2 separate regions of the Homo sapiens genome follow, and region 1 is linked to region 2. Evidence: promoter capture Hi-C in 16 types of primary human blood cells and fetal thymus (Javierre and others, 2016). All regions are on one chromosome and are shown on one strand. The core of a region is centred on a gene start or on the middle of the fragment in contact, and the rest is flanking DNA. Distances in the headings are between cores, read along the strand shown.

What was found. The method cuts DNA at HindIII sites, captures the fragments that hold promoters and counts their contacts. A CHiCAGO score of 5 or more calls a contact.
Region 1: a fragment that was not itself captured here is called in contact with the fragment with the promoter of EPHX1 in region 2 in 1 of 17 cell types (erythroblasts); the score reaches 5.1 in erythroblasts.

The regions. Positions count from the first base shown.
Region 1 is chr1:225,976,685-225,984,232 of GRCh38, reverse strand. SDE2 (spliceosome associated SDE2) reads left to right here. Exons shown (of 7, transcript NM_152608.4): 7 at 1-1,531. Among named protein-coding and RNA genes, the nearest start is that of SDE2, 19 kb to the left of the region's middle. The HindIII fragment of the contact is 1,549 bases long and covers 1,008-2,556 here.
Region 2 is chr1:225,807,262-225,814,268 of GRCh38, reverse strand. It overlaps EPHX1 (epoxide hydrolase 1), which reads right to left and starts at 4,145. Exons shown (of 9, transcript NM_001136018.4): 1 at 4,100-4,145. RefSeq lists a silencer at 3,968-4,187. The HindIII fragment of the contact is 4,776 bases long and covers 404-5,179 here.

The sequences.
Region 1 (7,548 bases), core at 533-3,032, 170 kb before region 2:
TTTTGTTGCCCAGGCTAGAGTGCAATGGTACGATCTCAGCTCACTGCAACCTCTGCCTCCTGGGTTCAAGCGATTCTCCTGCCTCAGCCTCCTCAGTAGCTGGGATTACAGGCTCCAGCCACCATACCTGGCTGATTTTTGTATTTTTAGTAGAGATGGGGTTTCACCACATTGGCCAGGCTGGTCTCGAACTCCTGACCTCAGGTGATCCACCCACTTTGGCCTCCCAAAGTGCTGGGATTACAGGTGTGAGCCACCATGCCCAGCCTCTGATTATTTTCTAATTTCCTCCCTCAGTTCTTCTTTGACCCATGGATTATCAGAAGTGGGTTGTCTGATCAGCAAACATTTGTTTTTTTTCCTCTTAATATCTTCTTGTTGCTGATTTCTACTTTAATTCCATTGAGGTCAGAAAATATCCTCTTTATGATTTCAATCCTCTTAGTTTTATTGAGACTCGTTTTATGACCCAATATGTTGTCTGTCATGGTGAGTGTACCATACACAGTTTAAAAGAATGCGTATTTTAGGCCAGGTGTGGTGGCTCATGCCTGTAATCCAGCATGAGATTACATGCTGAGATTACAGCTGTAATCTGTAATTTGAGAGGCTGAGGTGGGAGGATCATTTCGAGACCAGCCTGGGCAATGTATAGTGAGACCATGTCTCTAAGAAAAACAATATGTAATTTGAATTGTTGGGTTAATATGTTTTGTAATATCGATGAGATTAAGTGGTTGATAGTATTGTTCAGATCTTCTATGTCTTTACTGATCCTTTTGTTTATTTCTATCAGGTGCTGAGAAAGGATGTTAAAATCTTCAATTATGATTGTGGAATTGTCTATTTCTTAAATTCTACCAGTTTTTGTATGAAGCTCTAATAACTTATGTCTTCCTAATGTATTGACCATTTTATCATTATGAAATTTCCCTCTGTCTCTGGTAATTTGGGTTTGAAATCTACTTTATCTTATGTGAATATAGCCACTGCAGCCTTCTTAAGCTTAGTGTTTGCACAGTATACCTCTTTCTATTAATTTACTTTGTGCTTCTGTGCCTATTTAAAGTAGTTTCTTTAAACAACATATACTTGAGACTTGCATTTTTATCTGTTCTCTCTGTATCTTTTAATAAGTTTAACATTAAATGTAATTATTAATAGGTTTCTAATTTACATGTTTCCTGTTTAGATAAGATTATTTTATAATTGTATTTTAATTTATTGGCTCTTTAGCTATACTGTTTTAATAATTTTTTTAAGTTGGATGTTCTAGTGATTACAATATACATTCTTAATTTTTCAGTCTACCTAGAGTTGATGTGCCACTTCACATAAAATGTAGAAATCTTGTAAGTATGTACATCCATTTATCATACCTGTCTTTTATGCTGTAGTTGTCATACATATTAAATCTACATATTTAAATATTGTAAGTCCTGTCATAAGTTACAATTTCTGCTTTAAATAATGATATGTATTTTAAAGAAATTAAGAGGAAAAAATAAAATCTTTTGTATTTATTCACATATTTACCATTTCTAATATTCTTCATTTCTTCTTAAAGATCTAATAGCCTTTCCCTTAAGACGGAAGAACTTTCTATAGCATTTTTTGTGTCTCCTGGCAACAAATTAGTTTTCTTTTTCTTTTTCCCTTTTTTTTTTTTTTTTTGAGATGGAGTTTCGCTCTCATTGCCCAGGCTGGAGTGCAATGACACAATCTCGGCTCACTGCATCCACCATCTCCTGGGTTCAAGCAATTCTCCTACCTCAGCCTCCCAAGTAACTGGGATTACAGACATGTGCCACCACACCTGGCTCATTTTGTATTTTTAGTAGAGATGGGGTTTCTCCATGTTGGTCAGGCTGGTCTCAACTCCTGACCTTGTGAACCACCCACCTCGGCCTCCCAAAGTGCTGGGATTACCACCGTGCCTGGCCAGTTTTCTCTTTTTTAAAAAGAATCTCTTCGCTAGGTGCAGTGGCTCAGGCCTGTAATCCCAGCACTTTGGGAGGCTGAGGCGGGCAGATCATTTGAGGTCAGGAGTTCAAGACCAGTCTGGCCTTCATGATGAAATGCTGTCTCTACTAAAAATACAAAAAAATGAGCCAGGTGTGGCAGTGCGTGCCTGTAATCCCAGCTACTTGAGAGGCTTAGGCATGAGAATTGCTTGAACCCAGGAGGCGGAGGTTGCAATGAGCCAAGATCATGCCACTGCACCCCAGCCTGGGTGACAGAGTGAGACCCTGTCTCAAAAAATAAAAAGAATCTCTTTACAGATCTTGTTCCACTGTCTTCTGGCCTTCATTGTTTCTGATGACAAATCAGTGGGTATTCAAATAGTTTTTCCCTTTATAGAATGCGTCTTTCTCTTTGGCAGCTTTCAGGTGTGGTTTTCTATGTATTTATCTTGGGAGTTTGATGAATTTCTTGGCTCTCTAAATTTATGCCATTTAATCAAATATAGGAAAGTGTCAGCCATTATTTCCTCAGATCTTTTTCCTGACCCATGTTTTCTCTTTCCTGGGACTTCAGTTATAAATATACTAAGCTTCGGTCTCAGTCTCCGAGTCTCTGTCTTTTTTTTTTTTTTTTTCCACCAAACGCTTCTCTCTGTTCTTCAGATGATTTCTGTAATATAGCTAAGTTGATGGAGAGTCTTCAAGCCAAAGTTGCCTTTTGGAGGAGTTGGCATCTTGCCAGAATGGGCCTGCCTTAGTACCTGTACTGTGCACGTTGGCTATAAAGAGTCCCCAGAAAGTGTGGCCTGAGTGTGAACCCGGTGGCCCCAGAGCATCACTGAGTGATGCTCCCCACAGCAGGAGATCTGAGAGGCGTATTTTCGTGGCTGCCACAGTATGTTCTGTTGCTTAGGGAGGATTATTTTTCTAGCTTGGGTAGTTGGAAACAGTTTTCTTCAAATTATGTGGGTGCCTGTTCAGATCTTAAAAAGCACACCCAAAGGGAGAAGGGAAACATTTAGATTTAGTGAAGGTTTACTTTTTAAAATTTTTTTATTTTATTTTATTTTTAGATGGAGTCTTGCTCTGTCGCCCAGGCTGGAGTGCAGTGGCGCCATCTTGGCTCACTGCAAGTTCCACCTCCCGGGTTCACGCCATTATCCTGCCTCAGCCTCCCAAGTAGCTGGGACTACAGGCACGTGCCACCACACCCGGCTAATTTTTTTGTATTTTTAGTAGAGACGGGGTTTCACTGTATTAGTCAGGATGGTCTCGATTTCCTGACCTGGGGATCCGCCCACCTTGGCCTCCTAAAGTGCAGGGATTACAGGCCTGAGCCACCGCGCCCAGCATAGTGAAGGTTTACTTTACAAGATCAGGGTTCATCTTTGAGAGACTCAGGCAGCCATGCCCAAAGAATTTCTTTCTTTTGTGGCAGCATGAAGCTGGCTGGGCCAGTGCCCCTTTCCTAATTGGCCTGGTTATCCTCTTCAGGTTGCCAGAGCACTAGCTGGGCCCTGCTTTATTTAGCATGGGAGTGTGAGCAGCTGTTGCCCTGCTCCCTGCAGGCAAATAGACCTTGACTGGCAAAATGAAAAGACTATAGAGTTTTCTAATTGCCCCCTCTCTTGTAGCATTAAAGGCTAAAAGTAAGGAGGCTGCTGATGAGCAGAAACTGACCATCTAGCCTCTCTTCCTAGGTGGCTGTAGTTCTTCCAGCCCTCGCTGATCTGTGCGTGGGGATGTTAATGGGCTTTTGCTGTGGGTCCATTTCACTCACCCACACATTTTGTTTTGGAGATAGCTACCTTCCTCCTTCCTCTTCTAGTACTCGTACCGCAAGCTTCCTCATTATATTCCTTTTGTCAGTTCAAATGGGAGTTTGCAAGAGGGAATTAAACAAATATGCTCAGATTACCATCTTGAGCCAGCACCTGTTAGTGATTTTCAAGGTGAAAAGTACCCCCCCCCGAGAAAGTCTAGGAACACCAGGTGTTAATTCTAGGCTGGTTCTGATCAAAATCTTAAAAATGTTGACTTAAACTTTATGGCCTTATTTGTGTGCCTGAACTAGAATACAGGAAAAGATATTATGGACTCCAGGTGGCCCTGTGCCACCCACACTGTTGCTGCAAGTCACCTGCCTATTGGCCTGTTTCTGGGAGGGATCTCTGATTCAGTCAGTGCCAGTCTCATCTCTGGTATGTTTGGTACTACTTTTTCTTTGCATTCACCTTCATGAGATTTCCTTTGAGAAAAACTAAATTAATGATGCTCTATAAAGTAAGCCTACACTCAAACCATTCATAGGTCATTGATTCAGGATGGCCCCCACATAATACTGCTGAGCTGAAGGAAAGAATGTGCATGGTCATACTTCGGTTTTCCCTGGAATACAGGCCATGTGGTGTGGTGGGCCTTAGGGCAAGGGTTTTAGGGTTACTGATCTGGGTCTAAAATCCTGATTTTCCTCCTTTCTAATAGTGTTTCCTCAGACAAGCTCCATAGCCTTTCTGAGCATCAGTTTTCTGCTCCTGCTATTAAATGGGGTCATATCTACTTTTAGGGATGTTAGGGTTAAATAAAGTAGTATGTAAGGTTCCTAGCACAGTGCTTAGCAAATTTGTAGTTGCTCAGTAAATGGAAGCTATTGGAATACTCTACAGCACCATTGTCCAATAGAAATGTAACATGAGCCAGATAATGTAATTTTACATTTTCTTTCAGTCATTAAAAAGTACAAAGAATTAGCCAGGTGTGGTTGTGCGTGCCTATAGTTCCAGCTACTTGGGAGGCTGAGGTGGGAGGATTGCTTGAGTCCAGGAGTTGGAGGCTGCAGTGAAATTTTTTTTTTTTTTTTTTTGAGATGGAATCTCACTCTGCTGCCCAGGCTGGAGTGCAGTGGCATGATCTTGGCTCACTGCAACCTCCGCCTCTCGAGTTCAAGTGATTCTCCTGCCTCAGCCTCCTGAGTAACTGGACTTACAGGCACGTGCCACAACGCCCAGCTAATTTTTGTATTTTTTTTGTAGAGATAGAGTTTCACCATGTTGGCCAGGCTGGTATTGAACTCCTGACCTCAGGTGATCTGCATGCCTCAGCCTCCCAGAGTGCTGGGATTATAGGCATGAGCCACCACGCCCGGCCAATGATACAGTGAACTTTGAAGGCGTCACTGCAACTCCAGCCTGGGCGACAGAGTGAGACCTCATCTCAAAAAAAAAAAAAAAAAAAAAAAAAAAAAATTACAAAGAAGCAGGTGAAATTAATTTTAGCAATATATTTTATTTAACCCAAAAATATTCAAAATATTTCAATAATAGAAAATTATTGAGATAGTTTACATTTTTGTGCTAAGTCTGAAATCTGGTGTGTATTTTATACTTACAGCACTTTTCAATTCACAGTGGCTACATTCCAGGTGCTTAATAGCCCCGTGTGACTTTGAGCTCCTGTATTAGGCAGTGCCCCTCTAGAACACATCTTAAGGCAAGGCAGTGAGCACAGCAGAACTGTCCACCTTAATCCAAACACACGTGTACAGAGCTGAATCAAAGCCACATGAGGCTGGGAGGACTTGGGGCTTTTAGCACGCTCTGCCCTTCCCTCAGCCACCCTTGTGATAAGTGGAATATATGTAAAATAAAAGCGTTATGACCAGTCAGATGTCTTTCCTGTGGGGACTCCTTACATGCCAGGCTGGCAGAGGTGCAGAAACAAGTGCGAGAGCTGTGGTCTGTGAGTCCTAACCTTGGCCTTGCTGGTGTGGGGCTGGGTGACCTCATCTGGCAAACTGCGGTATCTGTTTAATTTTATGAATTGAGCTGTGAGGCATAGCTGAAATTTGCATGGGGGTGACAAACATACTTTAAAGCATCTTGCAAAAAAGTAGTAAGAATTAGGAGTTGTAGACAAATGCTCAATGAAAACAGGAGTGTGATACTGGGTATTGCACCATACCGTAGTGCTGGATCCCTCAGTTTACTAAGTAGATCTTTTGGTCCAATTACGGGGTAGTGTAGGAATGGCGATTAGCCTGGTATGTCCCATCTCTCCTTGTTGAAGTTCTGCTTTTTTTTTTTTTGAGATGAGGTCTCGCTATGTAACTCATGCTGGAGTGTAGTGGCACAATCACAGTTCACTGCAGCCTCCACCGCTCGGGCTGGGACCACAGGCATGTGCCACCTTGCCCGGCTAATCTTTTAAAAATTACTTGCAGAGACAAGGTCTCACTGTGTTGCCAGGCTGGTACTTAACTTCGAAGACGGCTCACAGGCTGCCTCTTCCAACTGCGAGCCTCAGTGAGGAAACAGTGGGCTTGTTGTGGAGTTTATTCTGCAGCCCTCCAGCCTGCAAACATTAATTGTGCATGTCTGATTAGTAAAACATTTGGGGGTGCACCCCACATGATGTCACTCATCTGTCAGAGCCCTCCATCGGCCTTGGAGTACAAGCCCACGCACTTGCAGTGGCCAGCAATCCCCTCTCAGGCTGCACGCCTCTCCCCTCTCTGACCTCATCTACTCCTCCTCACTCCACCACAGCCCCCGGGGCCTCCTTGCTGTTTCCTGAACCAACCAAACACACTGTGCTCCCCTGGCGTGGCACAGACTGTCCCTCCTTCCAGAACAGTCTTTTTCCAGACGTCCCCAGGGAAGACTCTCTCACCTTTCACTCGGTTTAAAATGGCAACCCCCACCCCCATCACTTTCTTTCCTGACTGGTTGGTTGTTTTGTTTTTTTGAGACAGCCTCGCTGTGTCGCCCAGGCTGGAGTGCAGTGGTGCCGTCTCAGCTCACTGCAATCTGTGCCTCCGGAGTTCAAGCAATTCTGCCTCAGCCTCCCAAGTAATTGAGACTACAGGTGTGCGCTACCACGCCCAGCTATTGATTGATTGATTGTATTTTTAGTAGAGACGGGGTTTTGCTGTGTTGGCCAGGCTGGTCTCAAACTCCTGACCTCAGGTGATCTGCCCATCTCGGCCTCCCACCGCGCCTGGCCGACAGTTTTATTTTTTTGAGATGGAGCCTTGCTCTGTCGCCCAGGCTGGAGTGCAGTGGCGCGATCTCGGCTCACTGCAAGCTCCGCCTCCTGGCTTCAAGCAATTCTCCTGCCTGAGCCTCCTGAGTAGCTAAGACTACAGGTGCGTGCCACCACGCCTGGCTAATTTTTGTATTTTTAGTAGAGACATGGTTTCACTGTGTTGGTCAGGCTGGTCTTGAACTCCTGACCTCGTGATCCGCCCGCCTCGGCGTCCCAAAGTCCTGGGATTACAAGCGTGAGCCACCGTGCCAGGTCCTGACAGGTTTTGTTTTGTTTTGTTTTGTTTTAATAGTACTTATTACCCCTTATCATATTTTTTTTTTTTAGTTAAATGTCCCTCTCCCCTCAGAAAATAAGCTCTGCCAGGGCAGAGAGTTGATCTGTTTTATTAGTGCCGGATACCTAAAATGTGCTCCATGAATATCTATTGAATGAATCCAGTGTACTAACATATTTATAAAACAACAAACAGAATTCCAAATAAATTCATCATCTCTCAACAGACCACATGACATGTCCACTGGGGTGTATGTACCTGCTT
Region 2 (7,007 bases), core at 2,896-5,395:
CTCCACCACTCCCAGCTAATTTATTCTTTATAGAGACGAGGTCTCACTTTGTTGCCCAGGCTGGTCTCAGAACTCCTGGGCTCAAGTGATCCACCCACCTCAGCTTCCCAAAATGCTGGGATTACAGGTGTGCGCCATCTTGCCCAGCCACTTTTTCTGTTTTAAAAAGAATTAAAAATGAAGCTCAGATATGTGAAGTAGTTAATCCAGCTCTTAAGTACCAAAAAGACATTCAAATTCAGTCTCTATTCATCAAACTTCCCAAATGCTAAAGGCAGCAAAAACTCCTGCTCCCGACCTAAGAACAAGGCCTGTGATCCTAGTTTGTGGAGTAGCTGGAGAATTTTCCAGAAGTCTCTTTAACTCCTCAGAGAAAAGAACACTTTCCCCTCTTCTGCAAGCTTGCTCAGTTAGGCCTTGGAGAGCCTAATGGGTGTGGCTGTGCGGGGGCTGGACCATGCACTAAACCACACCCACCCACCAGGCAACAGACGGAAAGACACAGACAGCAGGGCGGGTGGGCATGAGGACTCCACACCAGGTCTCTGAACCCATCTCCTGGAATGCCGTAGGTCAGGCTGTGGCAGTCAAATGGCTGCTTTCTGCTGAGAAAGGATGAACTATGACTTCCCCTGGGAAAGTAAATAAACCTTGACAATAGGGGAGGCTGCTCAGTGTGAGCTTGGTTTGCACAATCGTGTGCTCAGTTATATAACGGAGGATTGGATTGCGCAGTTTTCTCCTTGTTGAGAGGAAGCTCTTCCTGGAGCGCCCACCAGCTCCTCCCTCCTCAGGAGAGGGGTGTGGCTGGATCCTTGGCAACGCTTTGGTCCCCTAACGGGGGAACTGCTGGGGTGCCTTCTCCCTCCTGCAATCCCCACCTTATCCCACAGCCCCTTGGAGACTCTGCTCCTAAGCCACTAGGTCTGGGTCAAGAACCACACACAGGCAGCCCAGGGGGCCAGCTGGGCTGGGCAGTGACCCTCCTGCCTTGACTCAGGGCTCTTGAACTCTTAAGATTTTGCCTCCCCTACCCTGTGGCCAGGGCCTTCACTCTAGTTGAAGTGTCTTCACTGGACCCAGCAGAGGCTACAGGGCCCACTGAGTCCCTTCAAAACTTACTGTTTCCCTCCTACACATTCCTTTCCTGAAATCCCTTCAGACTTTGCCACAGAATCATCACATAGCAGAGCTGCAAGAAGGCCTGCAGATCGCTGAGCCTAACCTCATTTTACAGATGAGGTCCAGAGAGGGGACACATTAATGGCAGAGCTGGGACATGAGCCAAGTCTTTTTTCCAGCCCAATCCTCTTCCCACATCACTGTATTACCTCTCAAAGGAATGAATTGCTGTTGATGGGATTTATGGCCCTAGCAGAGGTGGGTTTTCAGTATGAGATCCTAGGCACCCCTCGAATCACTATCTGTCTATCCCATCTGTGCCCACTCTGTCCCCGAGTGGGTGGGCTTCGAGCTACTTCTTCAGCAGGGGTGACCAGCTCATGCTTGGTCCTCCCTTATTTGGTACACCCAGCTGTGATCCATGTGGTTGAACCTCTTGGCGTAAGAACTGAGAAATGAATCTCGGTAGCCCCTGCTTTCACATGTCTGGGCCTGGGCCAAGATACCAGAACGGGAATCAAGGTGCCAGGTGAGCAATCACCAAGCCTGGGTATCAGGTCGACAGGAGGGGCACTGTGCATTGGTGAACCTGGGCTCCCTGAAAATGCCAGTTATGCTTAAGACATCAGGCAGGAACCAGGACACCCCAGGAGAGTCACTCCACCTCCTGCAGTGGTCAAGATGCCCTTTCTGCAAAGGTCCCTCTGCCCACAGAGCCCTCATTCAGGGCTTCCTGAAGATGTTCCCAGCCGCGTAAGTCCATGCCAGCTAGTGTGCTTCAGGCACAGCTGAGAGGCAGGAGGCATCACGCAGAGAGCATGTGGCTTGTCACAGATGGTGCTGAGGTTCACCCTGGCTGTCTTGCTGAGTAGTTATTTTCTGTGGAAGGTCCTTCCTTTCCTGGAATTGGGAAGAAGGCCGCAGAAAGCTCAGGAGTCCCCTCACTTACAGACTGAGCTAGTTCAGTTTATCCAGTAGGTCACTCATCAGCTTGACCCACACTCTGCAAACACAAACATCAGGCCATTCAAGCTGGGCACACTCCTGCCCCCAGCCTTTGCACCTGCACCCCAGGCAGCAGCTTGGCTGCTCCCTAACTCTTCAGGTCTATGCCAGTGCCACCCTTCAGTGAGGCCTTCCCTTTCCACCTGGCACTCCTCTCCCCTCTTTAAAGTTTTATTTATCTCCATATTACACATCATCTTCTAACATACTTTATAGTTTACAAATGTATTTTGTTTATTATCCCTCTGCCCCTAGAACTGCAAATCCCACGAGGGCATGCTCCCCGCTGTGCCTCAGTTCCACAGTGAGCAGTTCCTAAGTACCGCCCATGCCTCCTCAGCGCCTCCTAGGTGTGGAAATTTGGGAAAGAAAAACTGCTTGGAGAGCACTCGCAGAGTTTTTGCTGCTAAGTCAGACCAAGTGGGGCCAGTGAAAGGCCCCCTATTATCCCCCAAACCTAGCTCCCTGAAGGAGGCAACCGTTACACCAGAAAACAATGTTACTTTCTGGAGAAGTGTGGCTTCCTGAAAATGTTTATTTTAAATTATGCTGGATGCAGAGGAGGCTGCACAGTGGTACCGAAACAGCCACCAACCCCAAGGTCCTCAACAATTTTCCACCAACAGCTCATCAATCCCAGCAAAGGGCTGTCCTGGAAGCGGGCCTGCCAAGTGCATGGGTCCCCCTCACCTCCCACCTCCAGCCACAAGCTGAGCCCTCACAGAACTTCCAGGACAACGAGTGTTGCCTGTAGGGGCGGATCCAGGCTTTGCGGAACCTGAAGTTTAAACAATGGGAGGTGGGCTATGGAGGGGGCATTCAACTTTAAGAAAAAAAAGTCAAAATTAGGATTACAACATTGCTAGGCACCCCACCTCCAAGATCTCGGGAGCCGCCAGGGCAAGGAAGGAGCCAGAAGCTCAGAGAAAACCGACATCTGCCAGGGAGGGAGGCAGGCGGCCACTCGGTCTCCGCGGCGCTTTTGCTCAGGTTGACCACATTCCCTGGCTTCAACTACAAGGTGAACTCCCGGGCAAGTTTCCTGTTCTACAAGAGGAGAGGGCTGGCCTTCAATCCCGAGACCAGAGCGAGGGGGTGCCGGGCGGCGGCTGCGGCAGCAGATGGAGATGAAAGCGCATTTCAACTAAAAGGTGTGATCAGTGTCAGGCCTCTGAGCCGAAGCTAAGCCATCATATCCCCTGTGGCCTGCACCTACACATCCAGATGGCCGGTTCCTGCCTTAACTGATGTCATTCCACCACAAAAGTGAAAATGACCTGTTCCTGCCTTAACTGATGACATTGTCTTGTGAAATTCCTTCTCCTGGCTCATCCTGGCTCAAAAGCTCCCCTACTGAGCACCTTGTGACCCCCCCCACTCTGCCCGCCAGAGAACCCCCCTTTGACTGTAATTTTCCTTTACCTACCCAAATCCTATAAAACGGCCCCACCCCTATCTCCCTTGGCTGACTCTTTTCGGACTCAGCCCGCCTGCACCCAGGTGAAATAAACAGCCATGTTGCTCACACAAAGCCTGTTTGGTGGTCTCTTCACACGGACGCGCATGAAAATCAGTGTTCCGACTTGGGTGACAAATTAAGTGCATTTCACCGCCGAGCGAGCCACGGCCCTGGAAGCAGAGCTCGCCCAGGCCAGGGGACGCGGTGCGCTCTCGGGGTCGCGAGCCTCCCTCCCTGCGGCGTCCGCCCACAGTCTGGGACGCGGAATTCCCTGCGAGAAGTCCGCGGTCGCCTGCAGGCTCCTTCCCCCAGTAGGCGGCACGCGCAGTCTCCTGGCCGGGGCAGGAGCTGGGGGCGGACCAACTACAAGTCCCTCTGCACCCCTGCGGGCCGACCGCAGCCCCGACCCCTCGGCGCCCCGGCCCGCCGCCCACCCCGGCGGCCGAGCCCGCGCGGAGCCCGAACCGCGTCTGCGTCCGGGGAGTGCGGGCCCGGCCGGCCCCGGGCGCTTACGGTCTCGGCTCGCAGGCTCCGGCGGCGGCAGGCGCGCGATCTCTCCGGCTCCCTGGCTCTCCTCGGCTAGTTTTCAGCAGCCCCGGCGCAGTCTCCGCCCAAGCCCGGCCTCCGAGCGGGGCGTTCCCCGGCCTGGAGGACCCGGGAAAGTCTCTAGGCCTGCCTAAGGCTCCACCTCTGCCAGGGATAAAACGGGCTACTTAAAGGGCGGTCCGCGGCCCCGCGGCCAGAAATGGAGAGAAGCGTTTGGCAGCTCCTACAGCAGTTTGATCCCGTAACTTCGTCAGTTGAATCTAAAAACAAAAATCCAAACTTGCATGATGTATGTCCTTTTTTTTTTTGGAGACAGAGTCTCACTCTATCACCCAGGCTGGAGTGCAGTGGTGCGATCTCGGCTCACTGCAGCCTCAAGCGATCCTCCCACTTCGGCCTCCAGAATAGCTGGGACTACAGACTGCGCCACCACACCTGGCTAATTTTTTAAGTTTTGTAGATACGGGGGTCTCACTTTGTTGCCTAGGCTGATCTTGAACTCCTGGGCTCAAGCGATGCACCTACCTCCGCCTCCCAAAGTGGTGAGATTATGGGCGTGAGCCACTGCACCTGGCGGTGTATGTCTTTTTAATTTCATCTTTCTAGCAATTCATTCTTAGTATATTTAACAAACATATTGGTCCGTGACATGCTTGGAAATCTAAAAACAAATTAGTGTCTTTATACAGAGAATGTGAGAAGCAATGGTCTGAAGCACTCTTGGGGGTCTTCATGGTGAGGACCAGTATAGGATGCTGAGTTCAATGCCAGGGGAGCAACCTCTTAGTGAATCCCCTCCCGCTTTGGAGAGAGCTCAGGGCCCAGGCGGGTGGTTGCTGGGGCTCTTTTAGCTTCCGTGAGAGCGTTGATCCCCAGCCCCTCATCGTTAGAAAGCCTGTCCCATCGCCTCTGCCATCACCCCTCCTTAGCTTCTCTCTTCACCTGCTCAGAGGTGCAGTTCTTTCAACCACCAGCATCCTCACGATCTCGGTGGACAGACTACAGCTAGGAGGCCACATGCAGGGCCCGTGGCTGGAGTTCTAAGCTTCTGACTGTCACCTTGCACACTTCAGGATAAGGTTCACCACCACCCACCTTCCCTTGGCCTCCAACCTTTCTGCTCACCCTGGCCCAAGAATTCTGGCCGGCAGACGCACTCACCTCACTCCCACCTCCAAACTTTTGCTCTTGCAGTACTGCCGGACAGGGTGCCCTCCTCCATCCACATGTAGAGTCCTCTTGTCCTTTAATTCTACACCCTCCTATAAAAGCTTTCTCTTGCAACTGCAGTCTCTGACATCTCTGTATTCCTTTCAGAACCTGCAGTCTGGGAGAGTTCTTTCCCCTCCCCTCCAAATAGTTCACACAGAAGCTCTGCCTCTGGCCACTTCACCAGGGGACCCAAATTCGTTACTCTTAAAACTGCAGTGATGGTGAAACAGGTAGGAGTCAGGACTTAACGCCAGAGGTGGGGCTTGGACACCAGATTGAGGACCAAATTGAGGACTAGCTAAAACAGGGACTGGGTGGAAGATGAGCATAAGATATGCCCATCATATCAGTGTGCCATGTCAGTTTACCAGGGCACGCCCCTGGAGTTATCACCCCCCTTCCATGGCAATGACCCGAGGACCCAAAAGTTACTACCCTTTTCCTAGAAATGTCTGCATAAACTGCCCCTTAATCTGCATGTAACTAAAAGTGGGTATCAACATGACTGCAGAATCGCCCAGAGCTGCTGCTCTCAGCACACTGCCTGTGGGGCAGCCCTGCACTGCAGGAGCAGGCCCCCTCTGCTGCTGCTGGACACCGCCACCTCCATAAAAGTTGCTGTCTCACACCACGGGCTCTCTCTTGAATTCTTTCCTGGACAAAGCTAAAAACCCTGCTGGGCTGAGACCCAATCTGGGGTCTCAGCTGCCCTGCATCAAAACTCTTCTAAAATTAGATATTGGTGATGGTTACATCACTACAAGTCTGTAAATATACCAAAACCCGTGAAATTTTACACTCTTAAAGGGTGAGTTTTATGGGTATGTGAATTATGTCTCAATACAGTTGTTATTTTATTTATTTATTTGTTTGTTTTTGAGATACAGTCTCACTCTGTTGCCCAGGTTGGAGCGCAATGGCACAATCTCGGCTCACTGCAACCTCCGCCTCCCAGGTTCAAGTGATCCTCGTGCCTCAGCCTCCCAAGCCGCTGGAATTACAGGCACTTGCCACCACACCCAGCTAATTTTTGTATTTTTAGTAGAGATGGGGTTTCACCATGTTGGCCAGGTGGGTCTCAAACTCCTGACCTCAAGTGATTTGCCTGCCCTGGCCTCCCAAAGTACTGGGATTACAGGCGTGAGCCACCAGGTGTGGCCAAAGCTGTTGTTTTTCAAAAACTGCATTAAAATGGCAACCTCTTGTATCCTAATACCCTCCTACTTGGTTAATCATCCATCCAGCGTTGGGCTGCGAAATCTAAAATAGTGCAAGATATTTCTAAGTACAGTCTACATATGGGCAGTGTAGAAACAAATGCATCAGAGTCCAACTCAGCAGGGCAAAATTTAGACAGATTTTCACTGCTTTTGGCTAAAAGCCATTGAAAGGTTTACGGGGCAAAAGAATGGGTACAGTGTGCTCTTTAGAATAAATTATATTGTGTAAAAAATCAGAGCAAGGCTGTTGTTCTGCATAAACATCTGGAGAGTTTCCAGGTACATCAGGTAGAATGAAATAATGTGTGGGAGGCAATCTTGGATAAAAATTGTAGATCAATTCCTGATTCAACAAAAAGGAAACAACATTGTTTCTGCCAAAAATGCACAATATGGATAGAATCATGAGGAAACATTGCACAAACCCGACATTAACATTCTAC